Regions from separate parts of the Homo sapiens genome. Here region 1 is linked to region 2. Evidence: promoter capture Hi-C in human tissues and cell types (Jung and others, 2019). All regions are on one chromosome and are shown on one strand. The core of a region is centred on a gene start or on the middle of the fragment in contact, and the rest is flanking DNA. Distances in the headings are between cores, read along the strand shown.

Region 1 (2,700 bases), core at 27-2,526, 140 kb before region 2:
GGCCAGCTTTTATTCCCTTATTTGGCCCCACCCACATCCTGCTGATTGTTGTGCTTACAGTCCTTTAGCTAGACACAGAGCACTGATTCGTGCATTTTTACAGAGTGCTGATTGGTGTGTTTACAATCCTTTAGCTAGACACAGAGCACTGATTGGTGCGTTTTTACAGAATGCTGATTGGTGCATTTACAATCCTTTAGCTAGACACAGAAAAGTTCTCCAACTTCCCACTCGACCCAGGAGGTCCAGCTGGCTTCACCTCTCAGTACCGGGCATCAACCCAGTATTTGGGCCCAGCCAGAAAGAGGTGAAAGGACTTGGAACATTTAGGCCATCCTTCAGATTGTGGTGATGGGATAGAGAGGGGCACAGGAAGCAAAGAGAGACAGCTGTATGAATGAGAGCAAATTAATTAGCTCAGCAAGTCTATATGTTGGAGGGAAGCTTTCTTAGTTTTTGTCTGGTTTGGAGTTTTCCTAAACTTTGCTTAAAATGCAAGGCATCCTAATTTCCCAGATAAGGATACTGGGTCCTAGAGTCACACAGCAGAACCAGGACTAGAACTCTGGTATTTTCATCATGTTTTTCTCAGTTAGCCCAAAATAGACCAAGGACATTTTACTTTATTTTGTAAAGTTCAGATCCCTTAAAGCACAGTAACCTCCTTATTTTCAGCTCAGGCTGTTGGGGCAGGTGAGTGTGGGACAGAGGGGACAAAGAAGGCAACTCGCTCTGTCTAGTAAAGAAAGGTCCCTGGATCCGAGTGTTTAGTCTGTCTCCCCAGCAGTGCTGATCGCATATTTACTGCAACTAGGCAACCACTTCCTCAGATACTGAAAGTGTGAGACTTCCCAATTGGCTCCTTGTACAATGCCCAGGCAGTGTAATTTTTGGAGAATATTAAATCTATCTTTTTGAATTTCAGCTGACTCTAGCCTTCGTTCCTTGTCAATACCTCTTAATTCCACCATCCTCCTGAGTTAAATAATCCTTTTACAGCAATAATCAATTAATAGATAACCAAGAACTCAGAAGACATGAGTGATGCCAAGTCACATTAAGTTGTACTATATGCTTAGGAAAAGAAACTATTAAACTTGCAAAGTCAGAATGCCTGCTACCTGATTTATTAACTTCCCCTTTATGCCCCTAAAGCTCTGGGGACAGAAGCCAAAAAGCTAAGCTGCCTATATATGCAGCCTAACTAAAAAATGGTCACAGTGAAACACTGTAAAATGATTATGATAAAATATAATCATTTTATCAGCAGGTGTTTAGGGTCTGAATGTGGAGCTTATGGCATGCCTCTGACATTTCAGTTTCACAGGCACCACATCAGACAGTAAGCCCAACTCAGAGAAGGGATACAGCATTCTGCTTACTGGAATGCCTTAGTCTCATTCTGTCACCCCATCCCCTACCCACAACCAAGAAAGTGTTAAATTTCACACCATCCTCCTGGTCAGAATTTAGGAGCTCCCAGTTCCTTTAGCTAAACTTTTTTGTTTTACATCCCCTAAAAGAAATTTTAAAAGTATGTGCCTTTTTGCCCGTTTTTAAATTAATTCCTGAAATCATAGTATCAAGTGTAAATCGTTGCTAAGGGTGTGCTCACTGACATATTGTGTAGTTTATATGAGTTTTTATATATATTTTTGTCAAAACTTTGGCACTGTGAATTTAGCTTATTAAATTTACAAGCAAAGGTGCACTATATAATCTAATTGGCAAAGCCAATTTTGGTGGTCAAACCATCCAGCCAAATCAGACTTGCTTTCTGTCAGATTAAGTCTGATTTCATTTTTTTCAATACAAATAAACATTAGCACACACCTCATGATAACCACCTCACTTTTGAATTTGAAGTGTTAGATCGATGGATAGATAGATAAAACACACAGCCTTGCCAAGAGTTTCCTGCCTGAATGAAAAAAGAGATTGTCTCCTTTACTATTGCTTGCGGTTCTCTCATAGGACTCCTCTAAGGGAGACATTCTAAAATTGTTACATGCTAAGATTCAGAAGGGTGAGTGAGAGTAGCATTTCTGCGGAAGTGTGGGAGTATGGTGATCTGTAAAGTGGGAGTGGCTGAAACAAGAACCTTACAGAGCACAGGCATGTTTCTGAGAAGGTAAGTTTTAGGAAGCAGTATATATGGAAGTTAAGGATTTGGACATTAATTTTCTTAAAACTACCCAGGCCCAAATACTTCCTGGAAAGTAATTACATACCACAAGGGTATCCATACCCCAGTTTTAAGGCCACCACTTTTAGATACAGCAGTACCCTCAAACTAGATCAGTGACCGAGCTAAGGCCGGTTAACTAAACTTCACTCCGTATTTGTTCTCCCCAGTGTTTGGCAGGCATGACTTTTCTTGAGACCTGCCACCTAGAAGGGTCAGAGTGATACTCAGCCTTTCTAGTTAGTACCTGTATTTCATTAGGTCTGGGTTGTCATTTAAAAAACTCTCCAAGTGAGCAAAGCAGGATACTGTTGCTCTCCAGATATTTGAAGGGTATTTGGGGATAGGAACACACTTGTTCTGGAATGTAATGTTTCAGCTGCCAGAGCTAGGAACATTTGAGGGAAAGGCAGGAGGAGGCAGGTTTTTATTCAGGATAAGAAGGAAGGTGGGTTGAGGAAGAAGGGTAACATTTTTTATCATTTGTATTGCATAAAATACATAAAGCTTTCACA
Region 2 (2,700 bases), core at 136-2,635:
CCATGTGTACTATGAACTATGGAACTTAACCTTTCCTCCCTCACATCACATTTTCTCATTACCTTGAACAATCATTGGTATTTTTAAATTTTGACCTGATCCTTTTTAGCCTTTATGTTTCCAGACTACAGCACGCAATTACAGAGTAAAGTAATTGAATCTTAACACCCTTGAGGGTGTCTCCAGGGCATCCCAAAATCTGACGCAGGCATCCCTTTTATAACTGCCCCTGTACCCATACCTTCCCCTTTCTTTCAGCCAGGTGGAGTTTGTGTAAATAAACTCAACCCTTTTGAGGGGTGGATTTTAGGGATGCAGTTCTATTGTTTTGACAAATGTATACAGTTGTGTAACTACCTCTATAATCAAGATTAGAACAGTCCCACTGCCCCCAAAAGTTTTAATTTATTGATCCATTTATCAATTGATGGACACTTGAGTTGTTTCCAGTTTTTGGCAATTATTTGCGTTAGTCTTTTGCTTTTTTTGGGTGGGGGATCAGAGAGAGTGGAGCACAGAAGTGTCATCCCCTTCTTCCACCATCTAAGTCTTTTGGGGCTTTTCACCAGTGCCCTCTGGAAGCAAGTGCATTGGTGCAGCTATATTTTTTGCATTTGGGTATCTGCCTTTCATGACCTTTTCCTTTTTTTAATTTTATTTTTTCCAAATTGGGTCCCAAACGTTCAACAGGTCAAGGTGGACACTATGCAGACAAAATAACTCATGTGGTCCACGCTGTGTGCATGGTAGGTGTCAGCTGCTCTTACCGGTGGCTCCCGGATCATCAGCCTTGGAATCAGCCACCATGTTGTTAAAAATGCAGAATCTCAGGCTCCACGCCAGATCTACTGAACCAGAGTCAGTATTTTAACAAGATCGTCAAGTGTGCCGGATGCATATTAAAGTTTGAGAAGCACTGGTATTCCACACTCGCTACTAAAAATATACTACAATTTTCTCATAAGATTTGACCCTTTATTTTAACTTTTTCTCTCTCGGTAGTAAACTCACTTTGTAGTTTGAGTAAAGAACTCAAGTTTTGGTCTGGGCGCTGCATCTCGCTGGGTGTGGAAGCAAAGGCAGAAATGAGAGGGACAAAAGGAAGCAGAGAACAGAGCCCAGGCTGTTAGAAGATCCTCGCGGCCAGACCTGGGAGGCTGAAAGGCTGAGAGACCGAAAGGCTGAACCCTCCGCCGCGCTCGGCGGCCCCTCGGAGTCAGGACACCCAGGGTAACATGCGGGTGGCCACGCGCAGCCCAGGCGCTTGCAAAACTTAGCGGAGCCGGGCCGGGGCCGGGCCCGGGGAAGGCGGGAGGGAGGAGGGCCAGGCGGGAGGGCGGGGACGGCGCGGCGAGGGGCGGGGTCAGCGCCGAGGCCGCGGGGGCAGCAACGACGCCGGGCAGCGGGAGCGGCGGCCGCGCCATGTGGCTGCTGGGGCCGCTGTGCCTGCTGCTGAGCAGCGCCGCGGGTGAGTCGGGGGGCGGCCGGCGAACTTCCCGCGGGGCGCGGGGCGCGGGGCGCGGGGCGCAGCGGCCGGGTGCGATCGCGTCCTCTCCCGGGCGCGGGCCGCTCTCCGGGCGTGGGTGAGCGCGGAGGGCGGACCCCGGCGCCGGGCTGGCCCGGACCCTGCCGAGGGGCCGCCGCGGGGTGCGAGCCGTCCTATTGTGTGGGCGTGCGCGCCGGGTCGTGTTGTGCTGTGTGCGCGGGCGGGGCTCTGTGTGCAGTCCGGGTCTGGGGAGCCCGGCGGCTGCCCCGATTGGGCGTAGCTCGAGTGTGGCTGTGTGTGTGTTGTGTGTGTTGAGGAACGGAGGCGGGGAAAGGAAAGGAGAGGAGAGGAGAGAACTCTTCCCTGGTCTCATCTTCCCAGACGCCTGGTCGCGCGCGGCTGCGTTAGCCTCCTCTGGGCCTCTTCCCGAGTCTCTGGCGTGCACTCCGTGCCTCAGTTTCCCCACCTGCACCGCGGAGGGAGTAGCAAAGCTGCTTCCTTTCATTCCTCTCTGGGACTGTTTGGTTTGGGTAAAGTGAGTTGAAGCAAGGCCGGATCTGGGAATTCATTTTTCCCCACTGATCCTGGGAACCGAAGCTTTATTTAAGACGTCTGACCACCCTACTTGCCCCGCGATGGGCGCCCTGACCGGCGAGGGGCCCTGGGAGAGGACACGGGGCTTCATCCGGCGGCCCTTTGAACCTGGCATCACCACCGCGTGTGCATCCCGGGGCCTGGACCGCAGCAAGCCTCTTTCCCTTCCAGACAGCGTGCTGTTCCCAGGAACTTTTCTGCTGATGTGGGCATGATCCGAATTCCAGCCTGGGAGCCCTTCCTCCTCTGCCCCTGCCCGCCGCCCACAGCTGTCAGCTGTCCCTCCTGGACTGGGCCCGCCCTTGGCCCCTTGACGTTTATTTCTGGGCATCTGATGCCTAGAATGTGGGTGACAGGGCCCAGTGAACTTTCTTCAGCAGAATCTTGCCTGCCTGGTGTTTGTGCCATCCACATGTCCAATAGCTGCCCTATTTTGCCAAGTGCTTCTAGCAGCTTGGCTGTCGAGGTGTCTTTGGTGGCCTGTGGGTTTGCTAAGTTGAGGCTCACTTCATTCTTAGCTGTGCCTTGGAGTTATGAATGCGTTAAAGGGATATCTCCTCTCTTCCTTGATGTCCCTGGTCCTGGGCATCCTCACAGCCCACTGGGCAGCCTTTCCTGCT

The links. The method cuts DNA at HindIII sites, captures the fragments that hold promoters and counts their contacts. A contact is called where the count stands out against the background at its distance.
Region 1: a contact is called between a fragment that was not itself captured here and the fragment with the promoter of LDLRAD3 in region 2, in 1 of the 25 tissues and cell types used here (mesendoderm cells).

What each region holds. Positions count from the first base shown.
Region 1 is chr11:35,800,366-35,803,065 of GRCh38, forward strand. The region is part of intron 4 of TRIM44 (tripartite motif containing 44); the gene reads left to right. Among named protein-coding and RNA genes, the nearest start is that of TRIM44, 140 kb to the left of the region's middle. The HindIII fragment of the contact is 4,427 bases long and covers 1-2,700 here.
Region 2 is chr11:35,942,677-35,945,376 of GRCh38, forward strand. It overlaps LDLRAD3 (low density lipoprotein receptor class A domain containing 3), which reads left to right and starts at 1,386. Exons shown (of 6, transcript NM_174902.4): 1 at 1,386-1,468. The coding sequence starts at 1,423. RefSeq lists a silencer at 1,297-1,736. The HindIII fragment of the contact is 6,577 bases long and covers 1-2,700 here.